Linked DNA regions of Homo sapiens: region 2 is linked to region 1. Evidence: promoter capture Hi-C in 16 types of primary human blood cells and fetal thymus (Javierre and others, 2016). All regions are on one chromosome and are shown on one strand. Each heading gives the region's core, a stretch centred on a gene start or on the middle of the fragment in contact. The rest is flanking DNA. Distances are from core to core; before and after follow the strand shown.

Evidence for each region. The method cuts DNA at HindIII sites, captures the fragments that hold promoters and counts their contacts. A CHiCAGO score of 5 or more calls a contact.
Region 2: a fragment that was not itself captured here is called in contact with the fragment with the promoter of TLCD4 in region 1 in 1 of 17 cell types (total B cells); the score reaches 6.4 in total B cells.

Annotation. Positions count from the first base shown.
Region 1 is chr1:95,115,386-95,119,466 of GRCh38, forward strand. It overlaps TLCD4 (TLC domain containing 4), which reads left to right and starts at 1,970. Exons shown (of 7, transcript NM_152487.3): 1 at 1,970-2,232. It overlaps TLCD4-RWDD3 (TLCD4-RWDD3 readthrough), which reads left to right and starts at 2,538. Exons shown (of 8, transcript NM_001199691.1): 1 at 2,538-2,706. RefSeq lists a cis regulatory region at 195-722 and silencers at 1,977-2,123, 2,051-2,330, 2,411-2,460. The HindIII fragment of the contact is 12,433 bases long and covers 1-4,081 here.
Region 2 is chr1:95,239,607-95,243,687 of GRCh38, forward strand. All of the region lies in intron 7 of TLCD4-RWDD3 (TLCD4-RWDD3 readthrough), which reads left to right. All of the region lies in intron 1 of RWDD3 (RWD domain containing 3), which reads left to right. Among named protein-coding and RNA genes, the nearest start is that of RWDD3, 7.4 kb to the left of the region's middle. The HindIII fragment of the contact is 5,719 bases long and covers 1-4,081 here.

The sequences.
Region 1 (4,081 bases), core at 720-3,219:
GCGTGAGCCACTGCACCCAGCCATGAACTGGATATTTTTAAAGAGATTAAGCTACCCTGAATTTTTCAGGAAAAAATACAGTTGATGTATTCTTCTACCTCCTAAGGTCACTGAGTTTTAATTAGCTTAAAACTTGCAACATTCAACTACTATTTACTGAATTCCTCTCATAGCTCAGGCCTTGTCCTTGATATATTAACTTATATGTTCTGTACAATCTCAAAAACAATCTTGCAGTTTTCATGAGGCATTTGTAGAGGCCTAATATGAAGGAATATAGTGGGACATAGAGTATAGTGGATTTCTGTGGGTTTACCTGGCTTTGGTTACTGCTGTTGGTGTTAGAGAATTATGCATATCAAAGATAATGATGGTGCATTTATCAGGAAAGAACAGAGCTACTATCAGCCACCAGAGACTAGCATGGGAGAGTTTCTGTAGGAGGTAGTGTTGATACAGACTCTTGAGAGGACACTGTGAAATTGGTATTTTCTGGGCTGACTTCACAGATGTTCACATATAACCATCCTGCCCACAGAGAGTTATGAAATAGCTATGTGAGTGCACAAGGTAGCTATTGCGCAAACCAAAGTTGTCAGGTACTGCACATATTGTGAAGGGACTATGATGGGACACCGTGTGGTTCAAAGAGCACTGGAGCCCTGGTACATCCTGAGAGTCTTGGGGAGAAAAAGGGGAACACGCATTTGGGGGCCTGAAAGATCTTTCTCTCTGCTTGACTGCAGGGCAGGTTTCTGTCCCTCCCTGTTCTGTGGTATAGATTTTGTCTTTTCCACATCAGTCCAGGTCTTCAGAGTCACTATGAATTATTATTACCATTTTAAAGATGAAGAAATTGAGCCTCAGTGAGGTTCAGTTAGCTAAAGGCACACAACTCTAATAAACTGACAGAATTCCAGGTTCTGATTTAAATTCTATTGCCCTCTCTTGAAAATAAACATGGACAGCTTATATGAGCTTTTGTGTATATATTTTCTGGTCTAAATCTGCGGCAGATATGTGTGTCTTTCTGCGCATGTATATAGTAGATCAAATATGTTAGCTCTATTGACATTTCTTAGAAATAAATATCCTGTTATCAATGATAGTGTTTACAAATTATTTATTTAGAACTTACCTCTTTTCAAGAAAAGGCCTTGTGATTGCTCTCTGCGAATTATAATGCATGAGTATACCTCTTTGTTATTTTGTTTTGTTTCAGACAATTATCTCTGGTTGATGCAGATCACTTGGAGGCTTTTGGGGCTGTATATAACAGGTCAGAACATCTATTTAATGTCAAACTTTATCTACTAGGCAACTTGGAATTCTCAGCCAGCACCAAATATTCAAATCCAACTTCCACACCCCGACAACAGAGGGGTTCCGGGTGTAGGTGTAGTGCTGGTGCACCCATGAGGGTGTTTTTCAGGAATTCTGGAGGTGGTGCTGGAGAGAACACGCTTCTTCTACACGCGCCCCCTACCAGTTTGGTATGCACCTGCAGCCCCAAAGAAGAACTGGCGGGACTCGAGTGTGGCCGTGTCAGACGTGGCAAGAAAAACCAGCAGTTGCCTTTTCATCTCTTTTCTGATGATCTAACCATGAAGTCCCCAGTATTTGAGCATTTAAGGCAGAATGTAAATTCATAATTTAAGAAGATTTTTTGTTACGTGGCTAGCCCAGGTACTGACCGCTGCGGGGGCGGGCTCACACAGTTCCCCCGCTGGCAAGTTTTGTGACTTGCTTTGGAAAACCCGGGAATTGCACCCTCTGCCCTTGGCAAGGTGTGAGCTTCCAGGATCTCTCCGCTGCGACTTCGGGTGTTAGGGTTTTTGGGCTCTTTCCGGGACCCAAGTTCCAGGGCAAGAAGGTCTGCTCGGCGGCCCGCCTCGGGGCCCCGCCCACTTTGGCCAGGGTCGGAGCCGCCCGGAGCGGGAGCCGGAGCCCGAGCGGCCGCGGCCCCTTTAAGGAGCAGCTCTGCGGTAACCCGAGCCCGCAGTCCGGGCGGGCGCGACGGCCGCCGCGGTAGCTGGAGCCTCCGCGACTGCACCTCCAAGCGGCCCGGAACCCGCGGCTTCCCTGGCTCCCGTGAGCATCTCACCGGGCGGCACTGGCCAGCGCCAGCCCTCGGGCCGGCCCGGATGAGCAGACTCCTGTAGACACCCGCCGCCCTCTCCCGGCTCGGCGCAGCCGCCGCCCGCGCGCGACTCGCCCCGGGACCCGGCACAGGTGACGCCGTTTGGAGGGGGGGTTGGGGAGGAAGGCGGGCTTGCCTCGCCCCGCGGCTCCCCCGCGCCAGCCGCCAAGCGCAGCCCGCGGAGAGGGGTGCCGCGGCTTCCCGCCCCTGGCCTAGCGCGGCCGAGAGCTCCTGCGCCTGGAGGCTGGGTGGGCGTCCGGCGCGCGGGAGGCGGCCCGGGGCTCCCGGGCGGGCTCCGGCAGGTGTGTGCGGAAGGCTCAGCATCGTCCCCGCCCGGCGGGCCACGGCGTCGCTCCGGGAGCAAATGGTGTCCCGGGGCCCGCGGCCCCCGCGCCGCCCGGGCGCCCCGCATTCCTCTCGCGTTTCTCGGGCTGCACGATTCCGGCTGCCCTGTCTGCCTGGCGGTGCCTCTCGGGTCTGAGCTTAAAGCGGGTGGGTGCAAACCTTTGGGCATCCAGGGAGAGCTTTCTTGTTAGAGCCCACACACAATCGGGCGCATCAAGTGGGTAAGTCCCCCTCCCCCGCCGCCACCTTCTGAAACAAGTAGCTCTTATTTACCCTTGCAGTTCTCAAGTGGGTCCCATTTTTAGCCACTGAGTGCTGAAAAGTCTAGTGGGAAGGGACCAGGCGTAGAGTCGGAGGGAGAAATTGGTTTCTATTTCCATCTTTACCTCTGTAACCCCTAAGTGCCTCGGTTTACCCAGCCATGAAATGGGATTCGTAATGCCAGCAGTTTCCTACCCCTCCAAGACGGCAGAAAAACCTCTGTGAAAACACTTTGAGTCTAAATTCATTTAAGAGTCGCTGTTGCTGGTCTGTATATTTTTAATTGTACACACATTTGAGTGTTAATGTGGTGCACACTTTTATATGAAATTATGAAATTTACTTTAAAGACTGATCTTGGATAATGTTTAATCCAAATACCAGTTTGGAGAAGATGGAAGAGTTTGTGTGGACCCTAGGAATTGATGTGTGAAATAGGAAAAAAGATTTAATAAAATCTTTACGCAGTCATAAATGGAGTTGAGAAAAATTGACCTTGGATTGTGGTGTTTTAAGTGAGTTACTCCCGTGCCAGCGCATGGTGTCGATTGAAATGTAGCTTCATCTTTGTGTAGCCGATTAAGGTAATAAGTTAGAGAATCCCAGCTCCCTTTTAATTGTGCTATATATGAGGAATTTTTATCCTTGCTTATCTTTTCCTTAAATTGGGCGAAACGAAATTAGAAAAGTGTATTCCCGCCGTGTTAGAAAATATGAAAGAATGGGTGAAGAACCATGGATTTTAGTTTATTTGCCACGCCCCTCCTGTGCCATCTGATAACCCAGAGAATATTTTGAGGGTGCTTCTTTTTTTTTCTACGCCTGCAACTCCTTTTGTCCCATTACCTCCCTCTGGAGTTTGAATCTTTACTGTCCTCATCCTTGAGATGAATTTTATCTGTTTAGGCTGGATGCCTCTGACCCAGCTGCCCAATCAGTCATTATTTATTTACAGTATTAGATTTCCATTTATATTCATTTCACTCTAAGCCTTCTTTACCCTGGTGGAAAGAATAATGGGTCTTTGCTACTAATGCTTTATACTTGGAGGTGAACTAGGAATGGCATGCTCAAGGTGCTGAGACTAATGCAAACCCCAGGGAAGCTAGGTCTTCACTGGAGTCTTCTGAATAGGTCCTGGAGTACAGATGCAAGAGTTGGCCTGTCTTTTCCTTGATTTTCTGAAATCTCCACTGGGTAAATTCATCTGATTGCCAAGGGAAGTCTTATGAGCAGGGAGCTATCAGAAATCTGAGTGTTAGACTGATTAAGAGCCTTCCCTGCAAAAGACTGGGGAGAAAGAAGTAGTGGCTTTGTAGGTGTTGGAGAGTCCTC
Region 2 (4,081 bases), core at 1,175-3,674, 120 kb after region 1:
GTGGGTGGGCAGGGGGATTTACCAAGACCAATTAGGAAGAATGCTAATCCTTTCCAATTCTTAAAAGAACTAAGGCAGTTTTCTTCCGAACATATAACTAGTATGACGGTCACAGTTTTCTAAGGTGAAAGTCAGGAGTTTCACCCATTGCTATTCTGTTTGCTGACTAGGACCAGAAAATAACACAGAGAAAAATGAAAATTGGTAAGGACTGACATGGCTGGCTCAGTAGCTTTTCAAGACTTTCCCCCTGGACTACCAACATGTTTCTTTCCTGTGGTTCCCTGCACCAGAGAGGACCCGGTAGGTGTTTATATGGCACAGGTTGGAGAACACTGTGGGTCTCAGGGTTTTGATCAGAAAAGGATTCTTCAAAGTTTGCAGCATAGCATCTTGCTTCAGTGCGGATACATTGCCTTCTTTTGTAGTAAAATCTCTGTCTCCTCCTTATAGGGACCCTTGTGATTACATTCAGGGCTCACCTGGGTAATCCAGGATAATACTCCCCTCTCGAAATCGTTAACTTAATCATGTCTGCAGAGGCTCTCTTGCCATGTGAGGGAGCGTATTCACAGCTTCTGGGAAACAGAATGTACACATCTTTGGGCCCATTATTTACCACAGGTACCAGGGATTTCTGCACCTGTGAGATCCGTGATTACAAGCTACTAGCACAATTCCAAGAGCTGTATGACTGTACAATTTAAAAGTTTTTTGTATCCCCCCATTTTGGTTGTTGTTTAAAAAGAAAATCAAGATATTTCAGTGCTGGAAAAAATGTTAATTTAGTTTAACCACAATAATTCTGGACATGAAAATACCATAAAATAAGTTTGAAATACCATGGAAGTCATTAGGTGGGACTTAGGGAGGAACTGTGGAACTGGACAAAATTTTAGTAGACAGAAAGTTAAGGGCCTTCTTGGAGATAATGGGAGCAAGAGGCAGAGATGGGACACCCAAGACTGAGGACATGGTATAAAATGGGTAGTTGAAGCAAAAAGTGAGGAGAGAGGAAGTCAGAGTGGTAGGCTGGCCCTAGGCGTTGCATGGAGGAATTTGTAATTCATTTCATTCTGGGAGAGTGGTATTGGGATAATTTGGTGTGGGGAGAGGCAGGCGGCGAGGAGACCACTATTGCAGAAGCCAGAGAAAGGCCTGAATTAGGAGGGTGGAAGGGAGAGAAATTCTGGAGGACTTGTGGGATTTGGCAGTTGAATGCTAAGTATGAAAGAAGGAGGGAAAAAAAAAAGTTGAAGGCAGCTTTAAGATTTTATGCCTAGGCTAGGTGTGGTGGCTTACACCTGTAATCCCAGCACTTTGGGAGGCTGAGGCGGGTGGATCACCTGAGGTCAAGAGTTTGAGACCAGCCTGAACACTGCAGTGAGCCATGATCACCCTGCTGCACTCTAGCATGGGTGACAGAGTGAGACTCAATCTCAAAAAGCAAACAAAAACAAAAAACAAGCACAAGACCAGTGATAGAGTTTCCTGTGGAAGGGAGGAAGACACTTCTTTCTCAGATAAAACAGTGAAAAAGAGCAAGATGATTAAAAAAAAAAGTATAATCAAGTGGCCCAGCAGTTCCTAGGCAGCAATGACAACTGCAGTTCCTTGGTCACTAACACACTTCCATGGATTCAGCCAGTAAGGAGACAGTGAACCCAGATGGATTTGGACAGTTACTGCTTAATGCACAGCAGGCAGCATTAGCTTCATGTTCACATTGATTCTCCTTGTCCCCCAAGTTCAATGGGGTGATGTAGAGGTAGGCTGAGGTGCATACAATGCACTCAGTGGGTCTTTGTTATAGCTGAGGGGCAGTGAGCTTAGGAACCCTCCGGTATTATGAGGGAGCTGCTAGTGATCCTGCTCAATCTTTGTCCTGAAGGAATATGTTACCTTATATTGCTTAGGAAACAAATCTGCCCCCTGACCTGGAGGGATAAACTCTAGCTTCCAAGGCTGTCGGTTATGCAAAAGTCCTTGAACAAAGATATTAATGCCCTTTGCTCAGAAGGCATTCAGAAATGCCAGATTGTGGGCATCCGACCCGCAGACACTGACCTAGTGATGGATGAGAGACGTACACTGACACAGACATTTTGCTTGTCAGTGTGGCTAAAGGGGTTCTGCTCCTGAATCTGCAGTGTAGGCCATGATAAGCCGGTGAAGTTCACATTTATTTAGTACAGATTAAATGACAAGGGTCATGAGTAAACACCACTAGAAGGTAATTAACATTGCCACCCCTCCCCACCCCCCCCAGGGGAGAGCAGTCATGCACCCACAGATAATCAAAGGTTGCTCTTAGGACCACATGAGTAAACAAGCTATTTAGGTAAACTCTCCCACATTCCCTTGTTATTTGCTCTTTTGCTATCAACTCGAGGTAAAGAGGATTCGGCTGCTTTCAGCCAAATCTTTTACTGAAGCTATGCACCACCACCCCCCAGCCTTCTAAGAAGGTTTGTGACTATTTCCTATAACTATCTTTACAATTTTTCCTCTGCAGTTTTTCCCACCACCCTGACTGAACTCCCACACCAGATCCCTGGAGAATTATCTACCAACACAGACATTTATGTTTATATAAATTATATGTACATGTATATGTACGCATATTTATGAATAAAGAAATGTTTAGGTGTAGAAGAGAAGTCAAGGAAGATCACTTGGGATATATCCCTGCTCTCGTGTTCTGAAACACTGGATTGAGTCAATATGATGGGATCTGTGTCTTACCTGTCATTTTCCCTCAGAGACTAGTACAGTGCCTTGAGCTTAGTAGGTGTTCAGTGAATGCTTGTTCAATGATGAATGATTGAAGATCTTTAAAAGTTCTCCTCCTTCTTGAAGAGAGAATGTCAACTCCCTAGATGATTATTAGAAAGTTTATTCAGCCTAAATGGTTGTGTGTTGTCTGCAGTTCTATTTGTAATGTCTGTTTTACATATTGAAATGTACTATTTTAACATAGGCAGCCTACTTTAACAATAAAGTATTTTTTTTTAAAAGGGTAAGTAGTTAGGCCGGGTGCGGTGGCTCATGCCTGTAATCCCAGCACTTTGGGAGGCCAAGGCGGGTGGTTCACCCGAGGTCAGGAGTTTGAGACCAGCCTGGCTAACATGGAGAAACCCTGTCTCTACTAAAAATACAAAAATTAGCTGGGCATGGTGGCATATGACTGTAATCCCAGCTACTCGGGAGGCTGAGGCAGGAGAATTGCTTGAACCTGGCAGGCGGAGGTTGCAGTGAGCCGAGATCATGCCACTGCACTCCAGCCTGGGCGACAGAGTGAGATTGTGTCTCAAAAAAAAAAAGAATAAGTAACTAGATAGAAGAAGAAGGGTTTTGAGAAACATGATGGGTTTTGGAGGAATGTACAAAGTTAGATTTGGAAAATTCTTCTTATGAAATACACATATAAATTGTATCATTTTAATATGGTCTTCTTAACGGTTAACTGTCTATGTTTCCAGATGATGTCCTAAAATAGTCGTTCCTTGCAGCTGGTACTGAAGAGTGTATGAAAGAAAAACTCTGTAACAGATGTGTCTGGTCCTGTATGAATCAATATCTGTAGCAATGGCTTTTATATATGTGGAATCAGAAGGCTCAGGAAACAATTTTAATGTTCTGTTAGGTTCTTTAAAATGGGGATACATTCAGGTCTCAGTTGTTGAGGCTGTTGAGCAGCAATCCAGGTATGAAAATGGGAAAGATTTGACTGCTTCTCTCATGCAGGGGAATAAAGCAAAGGCACGTGCAGAGGGAAGTAGGGGTAGAGAGAGGCAAGTTAGCTTCAGAGAGATTTATTTGCACCCAGTTCTGTTCTACTCAGCCTGACGTTTTATCATCTTTTTGAAAAGTGGCATGAAGTGGTGTGGAACACATCAGAGGGTGAAGCCAAGCAAATCTGAAAGAGAGCAGAGGATTTCATATGATATCCTATGTGTGCTTTCCCCTTCCTTCTTAGGAGCTGGAAGAGGCAGAATTGATGTCCACTCAATTTCAGTTCATCTTGCCACCTTCATATTATACTGATACTAATATATGTGAAATAAGAAGAGAACATTCC